Linked DNA regions of Homo sapiens: all the other regions are linked to region 4. The links are contacts of gene promoters, found by promoter capture Hi-C in blood cells and fetal thymus (Javierre and others, 2016). All regions are on one chromosome and are shown on one strand. The core of a region is centred on a gene start or on the middle of the fragment in contact, and the rest is flanking DNA. Distances in the headings are between cores, read along the strand shown. Region 1 overlaps MED12 (mediator complex subunit 12). Region 2 overlaps ZMYM3 (zinc finger MYM-type containing 3). Region 3 holds the start of FOXO4 (forkhead box O4). Region 4 holds the start of OGT (O-linked N-acetylglucosamine (GlcNAc) transferase).

Region 1 (3,505 bases), core at 828-3,327, 390 kb before region 4:
ACGCAGTCCCAGAAAGGGCTCTTTTGATCAGAAGAGTGATAGGAGGAGTTGGGTATGTTGCAAGGTTCCTTGGAATGAATGGATAGGATGTGTACTGGAAGGTGCAAGAAGAAGACTTCAGGCCAGGCACGGTGGCTCATGCCTGTAATCCCAGTACTTTGGGAGGCCCAGGCAGGCAGATCACCTAAGATCAGGAGTTCGAGACCAGCCTGGTCAACATGGTGAAATCCCGTCTCTACTAAAAATACAAAAATTATCTGGGTGTGGTGGCATGTGCCTGTAATCCCAGCTACTTGGGGGGCTGAGGCAAGAGAATCACTTGAACCTGAGAGGTGGAGGTTGCAGTGAGCCGAGATCGCATCATTGCACTCCAGCCTGGGCAACAGAGTGAGACTCTGTCTCAAAAAAAAAAGAAGACTTGAGACGGGGAGCCTGGCCAGTAGACTCTTGAAGTGATATACACATGTGGTAGAACAACTTGAAATGTTATTTGGGAACAACAACAGCAACAGCAAAAAACCTCAATGAGTGTTTATAGAATGCCTATCTTGTGCTAAGACTATTTTTTTCTTTTCTTTTCTTTCTTTTTTTTTTTTTTTTTGAGATGGAGTCTCGCTCTGTCATCCAGGCTGGAGTGCAGTGGTGCAATCTTGGCTCACTGCAACTTCCACCTCCCAGGTTCAAGCAATTCTCCTGCCTCAGCCTCCTGAGTAGCTGGGATTACAGGCATCCACTACCACGCTCAGCTATTTTTTTTTGTATTTTTGCTAGAGATGGGGTTTCACCATGTTGCCAGGCTGGTCTAGAACTCCTGACCTCAAGTGATCCACCCACCTTAGCCTCCCAAAGTGCTGGGATTACAGGTGTGAGCCACCGCACCCAGCCCTATTTTTCATTTTTGTAACAGAAAAATAGCTAATGCAGAATTGAAAAATTCCTAACCATTAAGGTTATGAGACACTAAAATAGAGTATCATCTTATGCAACTTATTCCCCAGACTGGAAGTCTGGTTAGTGACACGAGGAATGAATGAAATAACCTGCTAACGTTTCTTTCAGGTCAGGGACCCAAGGTTTATACTGACCCCCTCTCCTCACCTCCCTCATGCCTTGACCTCTGACCCTCTTATCTTTGGAGGTTTTCACACCAGACACTGCAGCAGACACCCATGATAAGTACCATGACTCCAATGAGTGCCCAGGGCGTCCAGGCAGGCGTCCGTTCAACAGCCATCCTACCTGAGCAGCAGCAGCAGCAGCAACAGCAGCAACAGCAACAGCAGCAGCAGCAGCAACAGCAACAGCAGCAGCAGCAGCAGCAGTACCACATCCGGCAGCAGCAGCAGCAGCAGATCCTGCGGGTAAGGCACTGGGATTTCATCTGGGACCTGGGAGCCCAGGGAGGAAGAGAGGCACAAGTTCTTCCCACACAGTTACCGAGACTAAACAAGGCAGTGTACCAAAACACCTAGCAGAGCGGCTGGCCTCTAGTGGTGCTGGAGAAGTTTTCTACCCTCCCCCTTTTTGTTTTCTGGGGATCATAGTGGGAGAGAGTTGGACATTGTCTGCTGGGTACCCTAGATTTGGTTTCTTTCTGTGCAGCTGTCTAAAAAGGGAAGGCAGTAGACCCCGAGCTCCCACCCTGCTTCCTCATCCCCTGCCCTCAGCCCTTTAGTTCTGAGGCTTAGCTTCCTCCCTCTGCTCCTTCTGAAGTATCTTTTGTGTTCTTATAGCAGCAGCAGCAACAGCAACAGCAGCAGCAGCAGCAGCAGCAACAGCAACAGCAGCAGCAGCAACAGCAACAACAGCAACACCAGCAGCAACAGCAGCAACAGGCGGCTCCTCCCCAACCCCAGCCCCAGTCCCAGCCCCAGGTAGCTGCTGGACTACAGCCCCAGGCTCAGGGACAGCTGCCCAGGTTGGGCACGCAGCCAGTGAACTGGGTTGGGGACAGTATGGAATAGGGTAGAGGTGGGAGGCAGGGCATGGCACCCTAAAAATGGATTGGGAGGCCAGGCGCAGTGGCTCACGCCTGTAATCCCAGCACTTTGGGAGGCCAAGGCAGGTGGATCACTTGAGGTCAGGAGTTCAAGACCAGCCTGGCCAAGATGGTGAAACCCCGTCTCTACTAAAAATACAAAAAATAATAATAATAAATAAGCCGGGCATGGTGGCAGGTGCCTGTTATCTCAGCTACTCAAGAGGCTGAGGCAGAGAATTGCTTGAACTTGGGAGGCAGAGGTTGCAGTGAGCCAAGATCATGCCACTGCACTCCAGCCTGGGGGACAGAGCGAGACTCCATCTCAAAAAAAAAAACGGATTGGGAAAGGAGGTTGAAGAAGGAGAAAAGTTCGACTTCAGTCTTCCACTTCCTATTTCCACCCAGTTCCAGCGCCAGGGGCTTCAGCAGACCCAGCAGCAGCAACAGACAGCAGCTTTGGTCCGGCAACTTCAACAACAGCTCTCTAGTAAGCCTGCCTGCCTTCCCAAGGAGAACCCCATGGAATAAATTTAGGGGGCGGGGTGGGCCAAAGTAGCTGAAACGATAGCTTCAGGCCCAGGTTATGAGAGGAGGCATTCCATTCCATCCCCTTCCCTCGATACCTGAACAGCTTTCCTCGTGCATACCCACACCCCTGCCTGGTCTTCCATCCCTGATAATCTCTGGTTTTTCACAGATACCCAGCCACAGCCCAGTACCAACATATTTGGACGCTACTGAGCCACCTGGAGGAACTGCTTGTGCACTGGATGTGGCCCCACCCTTTCCTCTTAATTCCCAATCCCATTCCTGGGCTAGCACCAGTAGTGGTTGGGGCCCTCCCCTCAGGCTCCATTTTTAATAAGTTTTTAGTATTTTTGTTAATGTGAGGCATTGAGCTGTTGGGTTTTGTATATTATTTATATAGAGACCCCAGAGCTGTTGCACCCAATACACAGAGCTTCTTTGCAAAGGGAGTGTGCGAGTTCTGCATGTCTGGGAAGGGTGGTCTCTTGGGAGAATGCAGGGGGTTGGACCAACAAGTCAGAGTCTTCATTCTATTCTGATCATCTCCCCTGTTTACCTTACACTCTAAAATTTCTTTTTTTCTTTTTTTTTGAGACGGAGTCTTGCTCTGTCGCCCAGGCTGGAGTGCAGTGGCGCGATCTCGGCTCACTGCAACCTCTGCCTCCCGGGTTCCAGCGATTCTCCTCCCTCAGCCTCCCGAGCAGCTGGGATTACAGTTATGTGCCATCACGCCCGGCTAATTTTTGTGTTTTTTTTGGTAGAGACAGGGTTCCACCATGTTGGCCAGGCTTGTCTCGAACTCCTGACCTCATGATCTACCTGCCTCAGCCTCCCAAAGTGCTGGGACTACAAGCGTGAGCCACCGCGCCCGGCCTAAATTTCTTAATTCTAATTGGATTGCTACCCTCTCTTCCTCTTCTTCAACATGGCAACACATTAAGGTATAGGCCCTTAGTCTCTTTTTATTTATTTTTGAGATGGAGTTTTGCTCTTGTC
Region 2 (3,505 bases), core at 387-2,886, 280 kb before region 4:
GTCCTTGAATACGCTCCCTCATGATGGCCGCCTTTCCTCCCCACTCCCCTTTCCACAGGGCCTGGACCCTGCAGCCCCAGGATGGGAGGGGCAGGTCAGGGCTGGCCAGGCTCTGTAAATCAGCCCCCACTGAGTGTCCTCACCTCTCCAGTCTTCTGGCATATGCTGCAGCGAGTAGCGTCGGCGGGATCCCCAGACTGGGGGATCGGGCGCTGCTGCTGGGCCTCATACAGGGAGAGACAGACGGATGTGCAGAACTCATGGAAGGAGCCTCCAGAACCAGTCTGCGCCACAACCGAGTCCTTGGTGTTCCAGATCTCCCTAGAGGTGGGAACAGGTTTGAATATTCACTCAAGACCACCCTCTCATTTCCTCAGCTTCCGCCCCTCCTCCAGGATCAATGACCACAGAGCCAAATACTCTGACTCTCTCCCTACATCACTCTCTCGCCCAGCTCCATCCTGCTAGGTTCTTACCAACAGTCTCTGTCTTACTCATACTCCTGCCCAGATCCCTGCCCTCTGCATAGCCCCCAAGACCCTCACGCACTTCTTGCAGAAGGTACAGGTCTTTTTGCCCGAGGGCTTCTTGGAGAAAGTGGTGAGGCAGGATGACGAGCAGAAGAGCTGAGGCAGCCCCTTGCGCTGATAGGCAGTCTGCCCCTTCTGCAGTGGTGTCCGGCAATGTGCACAAGTCATCTTGGTGCCCACTGCAGAGCGCCCGGCCCTTTGTGACACACTTGAGCGTAGGGACATGCGAGGAGAGCGCCGGGGCCGGAATGGCACAAAGTCCTCATCATTGGGGTCATCTACCATGGCATCAGAATCCTCATCTGACACTGGAACTGAGAAAGTGGGGGGATGGACATGAGAAAGGCCACCAAACCAGGTCTCCAACCATCCCCTGACCAACAGTTCAGTCCCTCTCCTGGGATCCCTGTTGTTCCGGCCTTTACACCCTGGCCCTTGTTACATCAGTATCTTAAGACCTTGGTGTCTCTCTCCCTTGGTTACTCTGTAACCTCCCAGGGAGGGAAAGGGAGAGGCTCTAAATGAGAAGATTCGGAGACAGAGATGGCATAGCTGAAACAGGAAACTCGCCATTCTCACTGCTCTTGTTTTCAATTTCCCCCACTGCCCCTGGTTCCCATGCCAACCCATAGCAGAGACAGGCACTTCATGCGCTTCATGGAGCAGGACGGCAGGAGCTAGAAGATCCATGCCCTGCCGCATGCCACTTTCGGACCTTTTCCACACCCAGAACTCCCAGGTCACACTTCCTCAAATCCTACTTACTGCTCTCAGTGGAATCTACAACCTCAGGTTTTGGAGGTTCTGCTCTCCTAACGCGCTCGCTTCTCTTCTGTACCTCGGAAAGATGGGAGGGGAGGAAAACTGACACCCTGGCCAGGCTAACACTAGTACAGGGTTTGGGGGGGGATAGAAGATGGGAGGGGGAAGGGAGAGTGGGGACCCTTGGCCCAGCCCTTAGGAGGAGGGAAGAAAAGGAGGTTGGACTTTCTCCCCAACAAGCAGTAGACACTAGTGCTCCCTCCCTCCTCCTAACTCTCCTTACACACACTCTCTACAGAACAACATCTGGGAGGGAAAATGAAGGGTCTGTCCTTCCCAGAGCTAAGGGGGAACCAGACTCCTTCCAATCCCCTCCCCCTCACCCGTTCAGGCGGCTTCTCACTCGCCTTCGCAGTCAGGCCATCTCCTGCAAAGGAAGCAGAAGGCAGCCTAAATGTTGAGCCTGCCCTCACCACCCTCTCCCCGGCCCAACCCCCGCCTCCATTCCTGGGGAAGAACTTACTCAAAACTGAAAGGGAAAACTCGAGTGCCTGTGGCTTCTTGGGGCCCCTCTCAGGGTTACCTCAGGCTCTGTACTAAGGGTGGGGGGGTGCACGTGCAGCTATTCCATGAAAAAAAAAAAATCTATCCTTCCCACCAGCTTTCTGTCCCAATCCTTGGGGGTTAAGGAAACACAGGTAATATACCTTTCATTAAGAATTTATATTTTACCAATGAAAAACACACACAACCACCCAAAGGTAGCAAAAGGAAAAGGAAGCATCAGTGTATGGGTAGCTTCCCCTGGATTCAGGTGGTTATATAAGCCCTAAGACCCTCGTCACAGCCTGATAGAGGCACACCACTAGGCAGAAGAGGGGAGACACTAGAGCCTCTCAAGTCAAGGTTGTCCCTCCCCTATCAGAGACGCAATCCTAGACCCTGCATTTCTATCGCTCTGCTGAAATCCTTATGCTGTTAGGGGCTCCAGAACCTAGTTACCATTCATCAAACCCAGAAATCCCACTCCCATCTAGAACCAAAAAGCTGTAAAGGTCTTAGAACCAAGAAGCCTGGTGTACTCCCCCAAATCCTGAAGGAAGGACTCTGGCACCAAAAGCCCACTGGGGTAGGAAAAAGGGAACCCTTCCCACCAAATTCACTCCTCCCAACCTACGCTCCCTGAAACCTTACCCCATTCCTCCCCCACAGCCTGTGCCCACCCCTACTTTCCTTAATCTTCCTCTACACACCACCCCACTCCTCCCTCGTAAACCCCAAGTCCTTCCCCACACACATCCCTACACTTATCTCTCCACCCTCCTCCTCCCCACTACTTCCCAAAGCACATAGCCACCCCTCCTTACCACCACCCTCTCCCAGCCCTGATTCTCCAGATAATTAGGCAACCTACCTGGCAAGGAAGGATGTGCAGGGGGGCTAGAGCCCCCAGGTTTGGTCTGAGAACTGTTGATTCCATCCCCCAGAGTCTCTCCCACTGAAGGGCTAGGCGGGGCATTTGGGCTCTGTGGCTGCCCTTGGGGAAGCTCCTCCTCCTGCCCAGGGGAGCCCCTTCTTGCAGTAGCTATGGAGGTGGTCTCCTCCTCTTCAATATGTGGGGACTGCAGTGTTATTGGAGAATCTGGAGCCAAAGGCTCTAGTAGCCCCTCAGGTGAACAGGAATTTGCCCCAGCCCCTGGATCAGGTGGTACCACCTCAGGGGTCTGGCCCCCTGGTCCAGGCTCTAGGGTCTGATCTCCTGCATCCCATGCCAGGGTTCCCTCAGGACCGTGGTCCACCTCCGGGGGAGAGGGGGCTTTATAGAGCAGCCCCCCCAGCCCCAGCAACTCAGTGGCTCCATCCAGGACTCCAGGGTCTTTTTCCAGGCCAGCAGGGGTATCAAGCAGGTCCAGGGCTCCCGAGGATGGAGAAGGGCCAGGGGGGGCCCATCCTCGAGTTGGGGCAGTCTGGGATTCCAGTAGATCCTCTCCAAATTCCATGTCTACTGGTAGGTCTCCAGCCAGGGGCTTCTCTGGCAGGGTCAATGGGTCAAATGGACTGGGGAAATCACTGGGGTCCATGAGTATGGCTGGATATGTACTGCAGATTAGGAGTAGAAGAGGGGGCAGTAGAGGTGGTCTTAGCCTGAATTCCTTCTTATATAGGCTCTGAGACACACCCCATCATCCACTTGGATTTCTCATGAGCAGCCC
Region 3 (3,504 bases), core at 773-3,272, 440 kb before region 4:
TTATCACACAGGCAATGGGGAAAATCAGAGGAAGATTTAACCAGGGAAATTACATGATCAAAAAAACAAAATTTATAGCCAGGTGCGGTGGCTCATGCCTGTAATCCCAGCACTTTCAGAGGCCAAGGCAGGTGGATCACTTGAAGTCAGGAGTTCCAGACCAGCCTGAGCAACACGGTGAAACCCCGTCTCTACAGAAAATACAAAAATTAGCTGGGCGTGGTGGCACATGCCTGTAGTCCCAGCTACTCCCGAGGCTGAGATGGGAGGATTGCTTGAGTGCAGCAGGTCAAGGCTGCAGTGAGCCAAGATCACACCACTGCATTCCAGTCTGAGTGACAGAGCAAGACCCTGTCTCAAAAAAGAAGGAAAGAAGGAAGGAAGGAAGGAAGGAAGGAAGGAAGGAAGGAAGGAAGGAAGGAAGGAGAAAGAAAGAAAGAAAGAAAGAAAGAAAAAGAAAGAAAGAAAGAAAGAAAGAAAGAAAGAAAGAAAGAAGGAAGGAGAAAGAAAGAAGGAAGGAAGGAAGGAAAGAAAGAAAGAAGGAAGGAAAGAAAGAAAGAAATTATACGATCGCATGTAAGTTATATAATCCCAGTTCTGCCTCGTTGGGCAAGTCAATCTCTGAGCATTGTTAGTGTCTTCATCTATAAAATGCGGATAATAGTGGTACCTACCTCATGGGGTTGAATTGAGGAGTAAATGATTGAGGAGTAAATGAACTAATGTTCGTAAAGCAATTTGCACAGAGACTGGCACATAATAAGGGCTCCATAAATTTTAGCCATAATTACCAGACATGTTTCTTAGAACGGTAACCTTGCTGGCAGCTCTGAATATAAACTGTAGTGAGGTAAAGACTGATGGAAGGAGATCCAATTAAGATGATACTGCACCTTTTTTTTTTTTTGACAGGGTGTTATTCTGTCACCCAGGCTGGAGCACAGTGGCATGATCTTGGCTCACTGCAACCTCCACCTCTTGGGTTCAAGCGACTCTCCCACCTCAGCCTCCCAAGTAGCTGGGACTACAGGTGCGTGCCCCACACCAGGCTAATTTTTCTATTTTTAGCAGAGATGGGTTTCACCATGTTGGCCAGGCTGGTCTCAAACTCCTGACCTCAAGTGATCCGCCTGCCTCGACCTCCCAAAGTGCTGATATTACAGGCGTCAGCCACTGCACCCGGCTGATCCTACAATTTAAATGCAGTTATAAATAGGTCTTGAACTGGGATTTGGATGTAGAAAGTTACGGAGATGAAGAAGTAATGGGTAATTACCTCTAAGCTGCTGCTTGGAGCTTGGGAGACTGGGTAGATCAGGACTACCATAAGTCAAATTCAGAGATAAGGGTAGCCAGAGGATAGGGGTGCGGGTGCAGGAACAGATAATGAGTTTGGACCTGTTGAATGAGAAGTGAAGCCGTTGGAGATGTGAACCTGGAGAATATCGGTGTTGAAGGGAAAGCCAGAAGAGCCAGTGGAGGAAACTGATTGGTAAGTGAGACCTCACTGTCAGTGGGAACTGCATATGGGGGGATGAAGGCGGGTGGAGGGAGGAGGAAGGGGGTGAGGAGGAACACCACCGTGGGCTAACCATTTGTTTATGTTACACAAGCCCCCCACCCAACTCTCCAACGTGCATACATCCTATTTTCTAGTCAGTTCCTTGCTTCTTGCTTCTTGGTCTCCTGCATCTTTAAGAGAATAATTTTTTCCCTTTTGCCGTCTCCTAAATGAAGGAGGGAAAGGGCTAGCACCTCTCAATCTGGTCACCTACACGACTCTGAATCACAAGGGAGACAATGGAAAGGGGGAAAGGGCGAAAAACGATTCTTAAGAAAAGAAAGAGTCCGCGACGACTTCTAATAATTAAAGTTCCACCTCGTTATATCCTGCCACGCCGCTCTCCTGCCGCCGTATCGGGCTCCTGGCCGCGAAGCAGGACGGGAGATGTAGTCCTCAAGAGTGACCAGGGTGGCACGACTGCAGAACTCGGTTTCCCGACTGGCTTTCGAGGCGCGTGCGCAGATGGCTGCCCCGGCGAGTGGTAAACAGAGACGTCAGGAGGGGGCTGCTGCTTGGAGCAAAACAAAAGGGAAACCCGGGGGGCGGGGGGTGGGGGGGGTTGATAGGGGAATCGGTGCGGGAATAAGGGAGGCCGCAGCCGCGGGGACCCGGACCCTAGTAAGAGTGGCGAGAAGGGAAGAGGCGGGGGAAGGGGGAGTCAGGGGAGGGGCAAGTGACGCGGGGGAGCGGGGCGTGGGGGAGGGCAGCAATCCGGGTGGAGGAAATTTGGGAGGAGTGTCCGGGGGGCAGCAACTTAAAAGGGGGAGGGAACTGCGGCTAAGGAGACGTTCGGTGATGGGAGCGCAATATATGAGGGGATACAGTGCCTCAGGTTTAAAAGAGCAGGAAGCTGAGTGAGAGGTTGCAGAAAAAGTGTCTTCGCTCGGCAGAGGTTACAGGTGGCATCTCAGAAAGAGCTTTGAGGCTACAGGCTGTAGTCGGGAAGGGGATCGGAGAACTGTGTGAAGGGACAGCTTAGGGACTAGCGTCCTGGGACTAGGGGGAAGTTCGCGACTTTCTGAAGACTGGCAGGAATGTGCCTCCTGGCCCTCGATGCTTCCCCCCTGAGGGGAGGCATCGTGAGGGACTGTGGCAGGCTTCACTGAACGCTGAGCCGGGGAGGTCCAACTCCACGTATGGATCCGGGGAATGAGAATTCAGCCACAGAGGCTGCCGCGATCATAGACCTAGATCCCGACTTCGAACCCCAGAGCCGTCCCCGCTCCTGCACCTGGCCCCTTCCCCGACCAGAGATCGCTAACCAGCCGTCCGAGCCGCCCGAGGTGGAGCCAGATCTGGGGGAAAAGGTACACACGGAGGGGCGCTCAGAGCCGATCCTGTTGCCCTCTCGGCTCCCAGAGCCGGCCGGGGGCCCCCAGCCCGGAATCCTGGGGGCTGTAACAGGTCCTCGGAAGGGAGGCTCCCGCCGGAATGCCTGGGGAAATCAGTCATATGCAGAACTCATCAGCCAGGCCATTGAAAGCGCCCCGGAGAAGCGACTGACACTTGCCCAGATCTACGAGTGGATGGTCCGTACTGTACCCTACTTCAAGGACAAGGGTGACAGCAACAGCTCAGCAGGATGGAAGGTAATTATGACCCTCTTACCTTCTTCCCAACACCATCTACCCCCTGGACCCCCTAGCCTCCCTTACTTCTACTCTGGGGCCCCTTTTACTACCTCCCACCCCCACCCCCTTTGGGAAGCCCAGAGATCCACCTTCAATCTCCAGTTAGACAAACATTTACTTAGTACATAGTATATGCCACACTCGGTGCTTGATGCTGAAGGATCACAGATGAATAAGACACTGTCCCTGCCCTGGAGAAAATTGAATTCTCTGCTCACTGCTCAATATTCGCAGCACTTTGGCTTGGGCTGCCCCAAACACTTATTCCCACAGAGAAGTCTTTATCCTATGTACAGCAGGAACTGTGTG
Region 4 (3,469 bases), core at 120-2,619:
ATTTTCAGGAGAGTTTGTGTAGTGATTTTTGTCTTTTTCACTGCATGATGTGACTCTTGATTATGGGATGGAAGAAATTAGCATTATGAATTTTCTCTGTGCCATTTCCATAATTAATTGTTTGTTGACTGTTTTGAAGAAATTTAAGCAGAATTTGAGGACTTAGTTTTAAAAAATGTAGTGAAGGGGCTAGGTAGCAAAAACTTTTTGAAGAAATTCATTGACCTGCTTTCTTAGATCAAGGACTTTTTGAAATAAAAAGGCTCTCAGAGATCCAACTTGTAGCCTCCAGTGGCTTGTAATACTTTCTTGCTGATGTGGCAAGCTACCTTAAGTCGTTTCTAGAACAAGAGGTGAAGTATAAATACCAATGTGACAAAATGTCTGAACAGTAGACTTGAAACTGCAGGAAGATCGTAAGAACCGATTTGTTCAAGGAAGTAGAGGCAATTCATGACTCAATCTAGACGTGTGGTTTAGGCAGATGGCAAGTGAATTCATTTATCATTGTTGATCTGCTTTGAGCTCAGTGGAATCGCCGACTGTGACAATGTGCAGAGCTAGCTGGTGGAAATGAAGTCACAACTCGAGGAGAGTCATGGATTTTGACGAACGTGAATCACCTTTAACATTTTTATGGCTGCCTTCGGAGTGCAAACGCCCAGCATGTCCCTGAGTTATTAAACATTTGCCCTATCACCGTGGGCAGGAGTATTCTGAATACCAAAACGATTTTGAAATTTCAGGCTATACGGCCAACATTGAAGGTGTCTGCATTCAACTGGCCCTGTGAAAGCTTCAGTCTTTTTCATCGAAGTGCTGAAATCGATGGCCGAGTCACAATGAAGACGGGCTCAAATCGGAACCCTCTCGCTCCTCGTTTTGAGCAGCTGTCTTTGAGAGGCAATCTTCTGAATTGACTGGCTCAGAATTGATCCGTGAGAGTCGTAACCATCCGTTTTTGTACGAATACAGTTGATAAACTTTTTTAGACGCCTTTGGCATTTATGTTTAAAACGACACCACCTGCTAAGTAACAAACACTCTTCTTAATCGCGGTGGCAAAAACGTATCCGTCCCGTGTGTGTTTGTTTTTACCCTTCCGCTACACTCTTAAGAAACTTGGCCGCTTCCGCCCCAGAGAGTGCCCTAACCACGAGTCGGGTTGACAGGGCTGCTCGCATGCGCGGTCTCCACCGTGGTGTTTGTCGCAATGGGCGCTGCGCGGAGGACTACATGGAATCTCGACTTTGCAGCTTGAAGTCATTTTGTTGGCGGCGCTGGTTACCGGCTACCTCCGCGCGGGCACTTGATTGTAACAGAAAGTAGTTCCGGCCCATGTTGTTTCGGCCGAGGAGCCGTCGCCGCCATTTCAAGACCGTACTAGGTAGATGGTCAATTAGAGTTCCCAGGGTTTGAAGCCTGTAACTGCTGCCGCCGCTCAAGCCCTCCAGAGCATTGCTACGGCTGCTGCCCTTGTACTACTACCTCCAAATACGTTCTTGCTGGTAGTGGCGGCAGCAGGACCAATTACCTCTTTTTTGCTCTCCCTCGAGAAGCTCCAGATGGCGTCTTCCGTGGGCAACGTGGCCGACAGCACAGGTACCGGTGTCCCGTTCTACCTTGGCAGATGCCCCCTTGGGGTCTCGCGCCGTCCTCTACCTTGTATCACTCCTTCCCTCCCTTCCCTCGAACCATCCCCATTACATCAGTGACATTGCTAAGCTTTTCGTGGTCTACTGGCATCTGATCACATCGGGTTTTCCGCTGTTGTCCGCTTCCCGAACATTTCCTCCTCCTCCCTTGCTTGCTTTTTGCTGCCTTTCTTGCTTTGTTTTTATTTCGTAAATGTTCTAGCATTCCACTCTCTCCAGGCGCTTTTATCACACGTGCGCGCTTAGAATGTCGTGGAATGGACTGCATTGGAATCCCTGCCCTTTCACTCCTTTGCAGCGGTTTTCTCCCCTAATTCCAGCTCATCGCCTCTCCTTTTTCCCCTCCATCTCCTCCTTCATCTCCCCCCCCAGTCTTTTCCCCTTAGCCAGATTTGGTCCTTCTCTGCCAATCTAGGGCGGGGGTGCCGTTCCGATGTAATCATATCCTCACTTTGCATCACCCGAGGACGATCAAAAGCTCGTCGATGGTGCCACAAGTCACCTCGAGAAGAGGGGACATTGAGCAGCACCCTGCTAGGCAGTGCCTTTCTGGTGTTCTTTCGGTTGAGCGGTCCCGGTTTAGATTGGAAATTTCCAGGGGTTTCCTTTGCCATCGCCCAATTCCACCGCTGCCCTCAGCCTGGATTTCCCACCCTGTCCGCGGGGAACCACACCCTTCCCTTCGCGAGGTTGCCAGCCCTGTTCACTTCCTATCCTTGGGGGAGAAACCACCCCGATGCTGCTGCTTTGGCGTTGACCACCCTGCCCGCCCAATTCTCGCTTTGTGTTACTTTCTCGATGTATTCCTCCGCCGCCGCCTCTGGGTCTGCCATCCCCATTCTTCAGCCCAGTATCTCTTTATTCACAGGGTGTAATATTCTTTTAAGTTTCCATCCCTGCTTGAAGAGTTTGTAAAGCAACTGGAGTGTAGCTGCACAAGTACAAGGCGGTTGCCCTTTTAGACACTTCAGTCGCGAGCATTTGGTACTGAAAATACGAAAACAACCAAATTGTAGGAGTGTCCTTCAGCTGCCTTTCCATATTGAGGCGATTTGGGCGGAAGGGGGTGGGGAATTGGGCTGCGCTTCTGAGGTTTCCCGCGAGGTTATTTTTTGGTTGTTTCTCAGTTGAGATGTGTGGAGGGTTTTAGCTACTGTTCCTGGAAGTTGTGCTGTAAGTAGTAGGTGAATCGTCAATAGTGTCTTATCCGTAATTGTAGGGAGTGGGATTAATAATTAGTCCGTGCTCCTCTCCCCACGTCTCCACCGTGATTTTCAAAGGTTTAAGATTCTGTACTGGATTCTGTACTAGCTTGCCCTTTTTAATGTGTTATTTATTTGAGAAAGCTGTCGTTTCAAGTGTTAAAATAGCAGATAAGCGGCATTGAAAAGTGACAAAGTAATGTGTGAAAACAAGGAGCTAGGAAGTTCTAGAGACTTAGCTAAAATGTAATTTTAGTTTCTATTAAAGATATAACCTCTCCCAGATGTGGATGCAAGTCTCAATGCTCTTTGTGTTGGTGGTCAGCTGTGCATTCTGTCAGGAAATTTACTTTGCTTTCCTCAGTATCCGGAACGCTCATCAGCTCTGATGATTGGGGAGCTGGGCTCAAATTTGAACTAGTCACCTTAACCTTGGTAGAATTAAATAATTTGTCCATGGTTTCCCATTTCAACCAGCTAGTGAAGTGCTACGGTCGAATTCCCAGTTTAAGTATTTACAGTTGTGACAAGCAGTTTTTTTTTTTTTTTTTTCCCTCTCTGGGCTTTAGCTATATCCTTTAAAGATCTTTATGTATCTGGATTAAGTCACTT

The links. Contacts are between HindIII fragments. The CHiCAGO score rates a contact against its expected background, and 5 or more counts as called.
Region 1: a contact is called between a fragment that was not itself captured here and the fragment with the promoter of OGT in region 4, in 2 of 17 cell types (non-activated CD4 T cells and total B cells). The highest score is 7.2, in non-activated CD4 T cells.
Region 2: a fragment that was not itself captured here is called in contact with the fragment with the promoter of OGT in region 4 in 3 of 17 cell types (fetal thymus, naive CD8 T cells and naive CD4 T cells); the score reaches 8.7 in fetal thymus.
Region 3: a contact is called between the fragment with the promoter of FOXO4 here and the fragment with the promoter of OGT in region 4, in 4 of 17 cell types (fetal thymus, non-activated CD4 T cells, activated CD4 T cells and 1 more). The highest score is 6.0, in fetal thymus.

The regions. Positions count from the first base shown.
Region 1 is chrX:71,139,497-71,143,001 of GRCh38, forward strand. It overlaps MED12 (mediator complex subunit 12), which reads left to right. Exons shown (of 45, transcript NM_005120.3): 42 at 1,139-1,361; 43 at 1,734-1,874; 44 at 2,387-2,468; 45 at 2,679-2,954. The coding sequence ends at 2,722. It overlaps LOC124905197 (a long non-coding RNA gene), which reads right to left. Exons shown (of 4, transcript XR_007068262.1): 4 at 3,050-3,505. Among named protein-coding and RNA genes, the nearest start is that of NLGN3, 3.6 kb to the right of the region's middle. The HindIII fragment of the contact is 5,236 bases long and covers 1-3,505 here.
Region 2 is chrX:71,249,883-71,253,387 of GRCh38, forward strand. It overlaps ZMYM3 (zinc finger MYM-type containing 3), which reads right to left. Exons shown (of 25, transcript NM_201599.3): 2 at 2,707-3,392; 3 at 1,676-1,719; 4 at 1,296-1,362; 5 at 550-844; 6 at 144-321. The coding sequence starts at 3,373. Among named protein-coding and RNA genes, the nearest start is that of ZMYM3, 2.5 kb to the right of the region's middle. The HindIII fragment of the contact is 6,691 bases long and covers 1-3,505 here.
Region 3 is chrX:71,093,829-71,097,332 of GRCh38, forward strand. It overlaps FOXO4 (forkhead box O4), which reads left to right and starts at 2,023. Exons shown (of 3, transcript NM_005938.4): 1 at 2,023-3,153. The coding sequence starts at 2,701. The HindIII fragment of the contact is 17,633 bases long and covers 1-3,504 here.
Region 4 is chrX:71,531,735-71,535,203 of GRCh38, forward strand. OGT (O-linked N-acetylglucosamine (GlcNAc) transferase) reads left to right here and starts at 1,370. Exons shown (of 22, transcript NM_181672.3): 1 at 1,370-1,602. The coding sequence starts at 1,566. RefSeq lists enhancers at 421-1,620, 1,121-1,460, 1,286-1,944. The HindIII fragment of the contact is 929 bases long and covers 795-1,723 here.